Linked DNA regions of Homo sapiens: region 1 is linked to region 2. Evidence: promoter capture Hi-C in 16 types of primary human blood cells and fetal thymus (Javierre and others, 2016). All regions are on one chromosome and are shown on one strand. Each heading gives the region's core, a stretch centred on a gene start or on the middle of the fragment in contact. The rest is flanking DNA. Distances are from core to core; before and after follow the strand shown.

Region 1 (6,056 bases), core at 2,185-4,684, 130 kb after region 2:
TCACATTAATTGATATCATTATTATTACCCCCATTTTACCAAAGAGAAAACTGTAGTTAAGTGACTTGATTGTAATCAAGTAGCTAGTAATGGGAGAGCTGGGTTTTGCGCATGTCTCTAACTGCAAAATCTGTGCTGTCAGCCACTAGCTATACTGCCTTTTAAATCTCAACTTGGGACATTGAAAAATTAGAGAACCACCAGAAAAAGGGTAATCACTAAGTGAAAAATCTTGACACCAAAGTCATGGAACAAAGGAAAGTAATGAGAGTTAAAAGGCCGGGAGCGGTGGCTCACGCCTGTAATCCCAGCACTTTGAGAGGCTGAGGAGGGTGGATCACCTAAGGTTGGGAGTTCGAGACCAGCCTGGCCAACATAGTAAAACGCTGTTTCTACTAAAAAGGGACAAAAATTAGCCAGGCGTGGTGGTGGATACCTATAATCCCAGCTACTTGGGAGACTGAGGCAGGAGAATCTCTCGAACCCAGGAGGCAGAGATTGCAGTGAGCTGAGATTGTGCCTCTGCACTCCAACCTGGGTGACAGAGTAAGACTCAGTCTCAAAAAAAAAAGAATGAGTTAAGATGATTCATGGTAACTGTATTCACATATTTAAAGGGTTGCCATGCAAAAGTAGAAATAGACTTATTCTTTGTAGCTCCAAAGGGCAGAGCTATACCTAGGAGGTAGAACTTAGGAGGAGTGTATTTCAGATAAAGGACCTTCCTAATAGAACCCATGAAACGGCTTGAGTTTTAAAGAAGTTTAAAAAACTATTTGTCAAGGATACATGTAAGGGCCATTCATTCCTGCCTTCAGCAGGAAGTTGGACTAGGTTAGTGGTTCTGAAACATTTATGCACATCAGCATCATCTGGACCAGTCCAGACCTGGTAAATCAGAATCTTCTGGTGGTAGAGACTATTACTGACGGGGTACTATGTTGGAAGAAAGTCTGTTAAGAAGGGAAGGGTTTTTGAAATTCACAAATGAAGTGCAAATGGCCAATTAACACGTGACAAATTGTTCAACCTCAATAGTAAATGCAAACTAAAACAATAGTAAGAGACCAGTAATCTTCTACATTCTACATATTGACCATTTTGCCCTAGAGGGCCTTATCTAATTCTCCAGAAAAACCTCCTAAAGTCATGAAAGATAGAGGGCAATGCTTGTGCTACCACAGCCACTATTTTCTCTGATTTGAGTGTATATACATATCTGGCGAGGAATGTCTATAAGCTGAGGAAAGAAATAAATTTGTATAAGAGGTACCACATTAATTAAGAGCCCTGGTGGCCAGTTTTATTTACATATTTACAAATATATCAATCTCCCAAGTCTTAAAATTGACTTAGGGGACCAAGTTCATATTATTGTAATTGTAGCTTTAATGGAAGCAAAAAATGTTTCCTGAATGAATACAGTAACTTACCATTTTTTCACTTCTTCCACTTACTCATTCATTCCTTCAGCTAATATGTATTGACCATCTGCTATGTGCCCAGGCATTGGGGATGAAGCAGTGAACAAGACAGACACTGTCCCTGCTCTCATGAAGCTCAACGCTCACTGGAGCTGAAAAACAGGAATAATATCATCTGCTTTATAGGCCAACTTCTATTTTTTACAAAAACCTTTTACTTCATGTCATTATGTTTGAGGGATGTAATTTGAGTCTGTATCATGGATAAATCCAAAGGCCAACAAAGTTCTGTGGTAATTAGTTTTCAGACTATAAGTATAAAGAGATTCATGCTTCAGTAATTTGTTATGGATGTTAGCCTACTTTTTAGTCTTTAAATTGATATATGAAGCCAACTCCATTTATTTGTAATATATACATATTATATACGTATTAAGCTTTCAATAATTATTTTTCAGAACCAACAAGCCAAAATAGCACAATTGTACCTCCCCTTTGTTGGACTACTTTTGGAAAATATACAGCGATTAGCAGGTCGAGATACCTTGTATTCTTGTGCAGCCATGCCTAATTCTGTAAGTAGTAATGTGTTTCTGTTGGAGTTTTATCCTATTTTATTGAATGCATTTGGAATTGGGGTCATATGCTATATGATCTCAACCTTAAGAGTTCACTTTTTTTTTTTTTTTTTTTTTTGAGCCAGAGTCTCGCTCTATCACCCAGGCTGGAGTGTAGTGGCACAATCATAGTTCACTGTAGTCTCAAACTCCTGTGCTCAAGTGATCCTCCTGCTTTGGCCTCCCGAGTGGCTGGGACTACAGGCATACGCCACCATGCCCAGCTAATGTTTTTCATTTTTAGCAGAGACAGGGTCTCACTGTGCAGCCCAGGCTGATCTCAAACTCCTGAGCTCAAGGAATCCTCCCCTCTCAGCCCCGTGAAGTGCTGGGATTACAGGCATGAGCCACCGTGCCCAGCCAAGAGTTCAGTTTTTACTCCATGTACACTGTTTTTCCTAATACAGTGCTTTGCAAACTTTAATCTGCATATGAATCACCTGGGGAATTTGTTAAAACAGGTTTTTTTTTTTTTGAGACAGAGTCTCGCTCTGTCGCCCAGGCTGGAGTGCAGTGGCGTGATCTCGGCTCACTGCAACCTCCGCCTCCTGGGTTCAAGGGATTCTCCTGCCTCAGCCTCCTGAATAGCTGGGACTACAGGTGCCCGCCACCATGCCTGGCTAATTTTTTTGTATATTTAGTAGAGACGGTGTTTCACCATGTTAGCCAGGCTGGTCTGGAACATCTGACCTCAGGTGATCTACCCACCACGGCCCCCAAAGTGCTAGGATTACAGGCGTGAGGCACCACACCTAGCCAACAGATTTTAATTCAATAGACCTGGGGTGGGACTTGAGAGCATGCATTTCTAACAAGCTTTTGGCTGCTTCTGGTCCAAAGATTGCACTTTGGAAAACAAATTCCAAGAGAACACCACAAATCCTTTGAACGCTGTGTTTTCGTTCTTAACATTTTCTGTTGTTGTATGGCTTCATACATTTATTCAACTTAAACTGAACAAAAGATTCTCTACTTCCAAGATATTAGGCACTGGGGACTAAACTGTATTCCTTTGCTTCTCCTTTCCCTTAGTAGTCTCCTTCAGCACTTCTTGGTGAGACTCTTTTAGTTTATCACAATTGGTCTGTGCTTTTTTTGCTCCCCTTAGAATTTTAAGAATTAGAAGGAACTTTGGAGGTGATCAGTCTCCTATTTGGCAAAACAACCTTTTGCCATTGTAATAATTTAAACATTCCTTCTCACATTAGACCTAAAAGGTTTTCTATCCACTGGTCTTACTTTTGTCTTCTAGAGACACATGAAACACATCTGTTCCCACCTCCAAATGTACCCTTTCCACTTGTGCCTTCTAAATTTTTCTCCAAGCCACCAAATATCTCCACTAATCTGTCATTCCAAATCCTTTACTTTTTTTTTTTTTTTTTTGAGACAGAGTCTAAGTCTGTCACCCAGGCTAAAGTGCAGTGGCATGATCTCAGCTCACTGCAATCTCTGCCTCCTGGGTTCAAGTGATTCTCCTGCCTCAGCCTCCTGAGTAGCTGGGACTACAGGCATGCGCCACCACGCCCGGCTAATTTTTTTTGTACTTTTAGTAGAGACGGGGGGTTTCACCATGTTGGCCAAGCTGGTCTTGAAATCCTGACCTCAAGTGATCTGCCTGCCTCAGCCTCCCAAAGTGCTGGAATTATAGGCATGAGCCACTGTGCCCGGTCCCCAAAACCCTTTGCTTTCGTGGTCACCCCTTTTCCAAATATGCTTCAGTTTACCAGTAACCCTATTAAAATACAATGTCCAAATTATACACTTTATAGTCTGCCCAGTGGACTGTTAACTTCTGCCCCCATCCATGTTCTGTATGGCCCAAGATCACCTTTGCACTTTGGCTGGCCACGTAATATTGTTGGGTAGCAGGTTAAACTGTGTCATTTACAGCTTCCTCTGCAAATTCCCCCTATGAAATGCTACAGCCAATTTGTCATGCCTGTCCTGTGTTCCTGAGGACGTTGCTTTTAAGCTTTTCTAGTGGCTTGCTTCCCTGTGACTCCCAGTCATGTCAACTGGCTGAATGTGGATACTACACCTACCTGAGTGTCAGGCTGGTCTCACTTTACAAATACAGTATCTCATGCTTATGCTCCCTCCACATAGATTTGACAGCATTATTTGGAAATATTTCACTTCTCTGTATTCTTTGCAGCTCAAGTTTCCCTAGGGCTTCTGGTCACACACCTTCTTCTAGCATTGCCCTGGTTCTAAGGAGGAGAACTGAATCATGTTAAGACTTTACCAGGCTGGGCGCCGTGGCACATGCCTGTAATCCCAGCACTTGGGGAGGCCAAGGCAGGAGGATCACTTGAGTCCAGGAGTTTGAGACCAACCTAGGCAACATGGGAAAACCCCATCTCTAAAAAAATGAAAAATTAGCTGGGTGTGGTGGTGTATACCTGTAGTCCTGGCTAATCTGGAGGCTGAAGTGAGAGGGTCACTTGAGCCCAGGAGGTTGAGGCTACAGTGAGCTATGATCATGCCACCGCACTCTAGCCTGGACTACACAGCAAGACCCTGTCTCAGAAAACGAAAACAAAAAAGACTGTACCAGTTGCAGCTGTACCAGTTGCAGCTATCTAGAATTATGTCACTTGGCTAGAGGTCATGGTTACAACAGTATGCTAGTAGCTTTTTTTTTTTAAAAAAGAGTCACCTAAATACTAATTACTAGTATCTGATTTAGACTTTCACAGTGAGCTTTGTTTAAAATCAATGTAACATTTTATTCTGTTAATTCAGATTTCTTATCCTATATACGAATTTGTTTAAATGACACAGGTATCATATTCTGTTACAGGCATCCAGAGATGAGTTTCCATGTGGCTTTACTTCACCTGCCAATAGAGGGAGTCTGAGCACTGACAAAGACACCGGTAATTAAACCTTTTGGAGATGATACATTGCGTGGGTGTTTAGACATGTACCCTCTACTTCTCAGTATTTTTGATATATTTCATAATAAAGACCATACATAGCTTGATCTCTACTAAAGTTTAATTAAAATCTGACTTATACTTGCAGTCAAATTTATTTGCCTAGGTTTCCTTGTCTAAGCTTATTTAGAACATAGCTTGGCATACTGAGAAAATAGAGGATAATGAGAAAAATACTGGTTTCCACTCTTCTTATCTGTCACCAGTTTTAAGCCAGATACTCCCATCTATGGGCTCAAGTTTCCTTGTCTATAAAATTGTCTTTTAAATTGTGTGGCTTTATTTTACGGCTTCCAAGGAATTTCTTGTCATTTTGTACATGCTAAAGTGTTTTGAAAGGTGAAAAGTTGCTTCACTTTTACATGGTTTCTTATGGTGTTTTGATATAATAAACTTCACATTTTAGATGTCCAAGATCTATTCCCTACATTAATGTCTCTACTTAAATTAGTTCCGTACTTTTTAAATATTTCTGACAGTTCCCCCTCTTGCCAACAAGGGCTTGACTTTTTTTTTTCCCCAGCTTATGGGTCTTTTCAAAATGGACATGGAATTAAGAGAGAAGATTCAAGAGGTTCCCTCATCCCAGAAGGAGCAACAGGATTTCCAGATCAGGGCAACACTGGTGAAAATGTAAGAACTTAAATATATAGGATGACCCTAGTGACACATTAGCCTGCAACAATTTTTTTATAGTATAAATATGAGCATCTGTACTCACCTGTAGTCCATCCTGGCTCTGCGAAAAGCATCCCATAATTCTTAGATATTTTAGCAGTATCTTCCTATAGTGGCAGCTGCTACTTCAATGTCTTAAACTATTTATAGAGAATAAGGCATTCATCCTCAAGAGTTCTAACTCTGAATATCTCCTTTAACCCTAGCACGCTATTTTAGTGAGGAGAAATTCAAGTTTAAAATATCTAATGTGCCTTGTTATTTAAAACGAAGCACATCCTGGCAGGATTAATGCAGTCTTTCATTCTTTTGTAATAGAGTAATGATATTAATTTGGGAGGAAAAAATATAGGTCCCAAAATTGACAATCTTAGGGTCCCAGCATCACTTAATCA
Region 2 (5,524 bases), core at 897-3,396:
ACCATAGAGCCTGTGGTACTAAGAATGCTTTTGGCTGAAAGTAACAGAATATTCATCTAAACGTGTCATAAACTGCAGGGGTTTATTTTTCTTACATAAAAAGGAACTAGAGGTAGGCAGTATCAGGCCTGGTTCAACAGTTCAATGCTGTCTGGATTCTACATTGGCTTCTCTGAGATTGCCTTGGCCTTGCCTCATGGTTGCAATATGGCTGCCAAGGGCCAAAGCATTGCAAGAAAACATCCCTCTCAGGAAGAAAGTGGGGCCTGGGCCTCTCTCCTTTTTTTTTCATCAAGGTAGAAAAACTTTCCCAGGAACCCTCCTCTCACACTTCCCTCTTATATCTTATTGGCCCAAACCGATTGGGAGTCTAGACCATCCCACTAGTCAATAAGAGGGAGCTTATCATGGTTTTTTCATCAGTCATGATTCATCACCTGGAGTTGGGCCTGCCTTCCTTAAACCCTGTGGCTCTGCCCTATATCTGAAGTAAATCTGGGCTCTCTTTGCAAGCAAAAAGTGTTATAGCTATTGTGGTGGTAACCAACAGCATGAGCCACACAGGCATTTATGGAACAGAGGGTATGAATTCTTGGAGATCAGCCTACACGCAACAATTAACAAATTTTACACGTACTGTGCAAAACTAAGATTTGTGACAGAATGTCTTTAGAGGACTTCCAGGTCCCAGGCCCTCTAGGAGCCTCCATATATGCTTTATTGAGACTGATGGGATGGCTGAAATAGGCTTACTGCGAAGAGACTTGGCCTTTTCTGGGTTCAAAGAAACCATCACCACGCATGCCCTTGTTTCCATAATAAAGTCCCCTAAAAGACTGTTTGGTCTTTGAGGGTGGGGAAAGTGCCCGATGGGTGGTGGTAGGACTGCTTTCAGAAGGGCTGCTCGGTCCCCCAGACTGAGGGCCATTTTCAAACTCTCAACAAATGAAATAACCAGATAGAAAACTGCCACCATCAGTGGAGCCTTTCACTCTGCACTTCAGGAGGTCTGACAGGGTCACTAGTACTTCAAGATTCCCGTCCCTATTTCTGTCTTAAGCATGTTCGTTTTATACCCTGTTATGAGATGTTCTTTGATTCTTGGAAAAACAATTTCTTGGAAGCTGAAAAGAGTAAGGAGATGAATAGGAAATGGAGAGGTGAGTGCAGGGCACTTGTAAAAGCTACTATAAGATTGGTAAGTCCACCAAACCCAGGGAGATGGCCTTCCTAATGCCCACCCCCACCCCACTCCTGGTGCAGTCAGTGCTGACCTAGGGATCACCTGCCACAGGCTCATCCTAATGCCCACCCCCACCCCACTCCTGGTGCAGTCAGTGCTGACCTAGGGATCACCTGCCACAGGCTCAGGCTCCACCACCCAGCTCTCCCCCGTGGGGGACGGAGCGAGGGGTGCCGCCACAATAAGTTCCCACTTCCAGAAGCATGCTCTCTCCCCAGTGTTGCCCCCTGTTAGGTGAGCCAACTGAGTAGGAAAACGGTGTGGGCGAGGAGGGGGACCCAGTCGAGCCGCTCACGCTGGAAAGCAGCTCTCTGTCCTTCGACATTGGTGCGACCCTTCCCCAAGGAGCACACAAAAGGCGGCTGCTCCACGTTGTTTTCCAGCCCCTAGCCGCCTGGGCCCTGGGGGCTTGCGGGGTGGAGGGACGTGAGAGTTCTCCAGCCCTCCTGCGGGCACTGCAGCTCGGAGGCGGGAGAGGAGCACTAGGGCGGGAGAGGAGCACGCCCCACTCTTGGAGACATTTCATCACCCCTCTCTGTTCCCCCACCCCACCCCGCCCTCCCCACTCAAGCGGAAAAAAAGAAGCAGCCCAGATCTCCCCTCCCGGATGCGGCTGCACCAGCAACATCAGCTGCGGGCGGAGCCCGAGCGGTAGCCACTTCCCCCCTCTTCCCTCGTGACCCTCGCCCCCACCTCCAGTTCTCCCTCCCCCTCTACACACCCTTCCCCATCAGACACACCCTCCTGCTTCGGCTGGTGGCGATCGGAGCTCGGGCCCTCTAGGGGAGGGAGCTGCCGCCGCCGACGCCGTGGGGCAGGACAGTGAGCGGGCGAAGCGAGCGAGAAAAGGAGGGAAGGAGGGAACGAGGGAGGAGCAGCGGGTGGGAGGTGGGAGGGAGGAGCAGCGTGAGCCGCGCCGCCGCCGAGCTGCGATGTGGCCGGCCGGCCGGCGAGTAAACAGAGGGAGCAGCAGCGGCCGCGGCCGCCGCGGGCCGGGGCAGTGAGTCCACCCGCCCGCCGAGGTCCGCCCGCCCGCCGAGACCCGCCCGCCGCCGCTGCCATGGCCGAAGTGCGCAAATTCACCAAACGGCTCAGCAAGCCTGGCACGGCGGCTGAGCTCCGGCAGAGCGTGTCTGAGGCCGTGCGGGGCTCCGTGGTGCTGGTGAGTGGCCGGGGGACGGGGCATCCCGGGGGACGCGCTCCAGGCGGGAGCGACGCGGGAAGGGGCAGGAACGGCGCCAGTGCGGCCGCTTGGTGCGCCGCGCGCTGTCTTTCTCCGCTCCAGTAAGTTTTCGCACCGGCAGCCGCCGGCCGGGGTCCGAGTCCCAGGCGCCGGCTGACAGCTCTCCGGCCGCCCGGCACGGCGGAGGCGTGCGCCGGGATGGAAGCAGACGGGCAAAAGCCGGGCTCGGACGGCTGCGGAGGAGGCGGAGGCGGAGGCTCCCACCCAGGGTCGGGGCCGGGGGTGTGAGCTAAAGAGCTGACCTCGCGCTGCTCTGGACTCGGCACAAAGAGCCGGGGACAAGGGCACGACGAGATCCTGATCCCCTCCCGCGAGCACCTGAGGCCGCCTAGGCGGAAGGATGCGATGAGCGTTTGGCACACACACTCTCGCGCGCACACATACACACACTGTGTACACAAAAAAGAACCCCACCCAGAAAGCCCCGGGCGCCCAAGCTCGGGCTGGCGGTGAGAACAGAGGAAGCAGAGCGACTTCCTCCTGCAACTGGGGAGAGAGGGTGGTGATGGGTGTTGAAGGGGTGCTGCTGCGGAGGAAGGGCATTAGAAACAACGGGGTTCTGCGACAGAGTGGGCGCAGGGTCATCCACCGCAGGGAGAGTGTGTCCCTCGGGGACACGCGAGCGCTCCAGAGGCAAGGGGACCAAGGGGACGGTGCCGTGGGGATTTGGGGGAAGACTGGGTGTGTCAGTCCAGGGATGGAGGACCTGGGGTCAGAGCCCCACAGCTCAGGACTGGGGGATGGGGATTCGAAAGCGCGCTGACTCCCTGGGAACCCTCCCAGAGCACCCTCAGCCTTATCCAGATTGTCTGACTCTGGAGAAAGGCTAAAGGGTGCTAACGGGCACTTGCCCCTTCTCTTGTTTTCAAGACACTCGTTGCCAGTTTCCTGGACAAGCGAACAAACCCTGAATAAGCAATCGGACTGATTAATTAGTGTTTGTTTTGTTACTTTGTTTTTTGGTTGTTGTTTTTGTTTGTTTTTGTCTCCCTCAGCTCCATTTTACAGCGAGTCGTTTGCTGTGTTTAAATTTCACCGTTTAAGAGAGGGCTCTTTTTGTTAAAACAACTTGTCATCGGAAGGGAACTTCACAGCTTTTCCTTGTAATTTTTCTGTTGATCTTGTAGAATCAGCAATAAAACCCAGCATTAAAGGGAGGCCAGGGGCTTGATCCCAACAGTGGAGAAAGTTGACATTAGTGGGAGTTCTGGAGGAGGATCAAAGGTAAACTATGTACCTTTGAGATAAAGATCTGATCCCTAATAGCTACAACTGTGCAAACCTAAGTGACTTTAAAGAAATCTCTTTATTGTGGCTAGACCCTTGAAAGTTTAATTCTGCTGTTTAGTGGAGCTAAATCCAGACCTTTAATGTTACTTTAATGGACTTGGCTTGTGTATTTCAGTCTGATTTTGGAGTGAGGACCTGTTGAGGTCAGATTGGAGCCTTGCCTGTCATCACAGCCAGTTAAGAGAGGAAGGCAAGCTGTGTGCAGAGCATTTATACCAGGGCTCTCATCTTGGGTGATTGTTAACACGTGATTCAATCTACCTAGCAGAGAACGCTTTCCTAAATTCAGAGAAAACAAAAAACCTTCCTTGAGCGGGGTTGGCTGGCCTTCTACCACAACACGTGAAGAAAGCTGTAGGTGGCCAGATTTCTCGAGAATAAATGGGACTAAGAAAACTTCCACTGGGATTTGATCAGCACTTGACCTGCCACCCTAGCAGCAAAAAGTTAACATTAGCATTCTTTCCCCTGTTTTTAGGTTTTCAAAAGAATTTTGTGCATTGTAGGTTCAGCGGCTCCTTCCTGACCATTGATTCTATGGCGAAGGAGGAAAAACTGTTATTGGCAGGAGTCTTTTCTAGGAGACGCTGGCAGTGGCCATGGTTCCCTTGTCAGCCCAGCTTACTTGGGACCAAGGTCATTGATTTTTACCGTTTACACCAGGCAATGCAGAGGAATATTTACTCATTACTCTAGTATGTGAACCACATTGAGATTTTGGGAGTGAGGGAGAACAGATTCTAGTAATCTAAATCAATGAATATCTATTGAGCCCTTACAATGTGCCACACACAATGCTAGATGCTCTATAATTATGAGAATGCAAATGATCTTTTTCTTCATTTGTTTTCATTATTTACAATCTGGGTTGGTTGTGTGTATGGGAATGTCTTTGTCAATAGGACACCCAGATTATGCACACAAATCAAGTTTAGATTCTTCATAGAGCCTTAGCAAATGCTATTTGTAAGCAGTTTAGTCAACGAAAAAATAAGGAAATAGTTCTTACATGGAATGTATGCTCCTAAATGACTCTCTCTCACAAAGAGCTGTTAACCAAAGTTAGTAAAACCACGAGTGGCTGGAGAGTGAGGGGACCATGTTGCAGCTGCTGCCATAACTTCTGATTCTTTTAAGGGACAGCTGAGGTAGGATTTACACTTGTGCTATAAACCCAAGATACTCACATTGGGGCTTCAATATGAGTTAGAGCCATTACCGCAGCAAGTCAAGCTTTCCTCTGGTGTATCTCTTGTTAGAACATGGAAAACCCACCAAGCTGTACAAATATACAGTATTTCCTGTTTAGGTTTTTTTTTTATTTTTTTTTTAAGGATTTTGGAATTACACCCTTGTTGGCCTGTTGCTAACATCATTCAGTTTTCCTCACTGTTTGAAAAATTCAGATGGCTGGGCCTGGGCTATATATAGCATGTTGTTGCGTATTCAAACTGTTATTCAGTTATTAGTACTTCCACGAATCTATTAACTAACTACATAATAAAGCAGACAGAGAGACTGTTCCACTGTTACTGCATTTTCCTATAAGTTCAGCATTTTTATGAAGGTCAGTTTTAACCCAGGGAAAGGGATAATTACAGAATCATCATTGACAGATTTCTCAAGAGGGGATTGGGGAGAAACATTATAACCTGAGAGTGTATGTGATTAAGAGAGAAGTGTTTACATATGTACTTGTTTAAAATGCAGAGTTTTAAATTTTTAAATTGATTTTGTTGTAATTCAGG

The links. Contacts are between HindIII fragments. The CHiCAGO score rates a contact against its expected background, and 5 or more counts as called.
Region 1: a contact is called between a fragment that was not itself captured here and the fragment with the promoter of DOCK11 in region 2, in 1 of 17 cell types (activated CD4 T cells). The highest score is 7.6, in activated CD4 T cells.

Annotation. Positions count from the first base shown.
Region 1 is chrX:118,622,657-118,628,712 of GRCh38, forward strand. DOCK11 (dedicator of cytokinesis 11) reads left to right here. Exons shown (of 53, transcript NM_144658.4): 32 at 1,883-1,999; 33 at 4,848-4,923; 34 at 5,507-5,616. Among named protein-coding and RNA genes, the nearest start is that of IL13RA1, 100 kb to the right of the region's middle. The HindIII fragment of the contact is 1,159 bases long and covers 2,856-4,014 here.
Region 2 is chrX:118,493,669-118,499,192 of GRCh38, forward strand. DOCK11 (dedicator of cytokinesis 11) reads left to right here and starts at 2,147. Exons shown (of 53, transcript NM_144658.4): 1 at 2,147-2,405. The coding sequence starts at 2,304. RefSeq lists enhancers at 1,485-1,554, 1,957-2,935 and silencers at 1,965-2,104, 2,215-2,294, 2,385-2,444, 2,615-2,674. The HindIII fragment of the contact is 5,195 bases long and covers 1-5,007 here.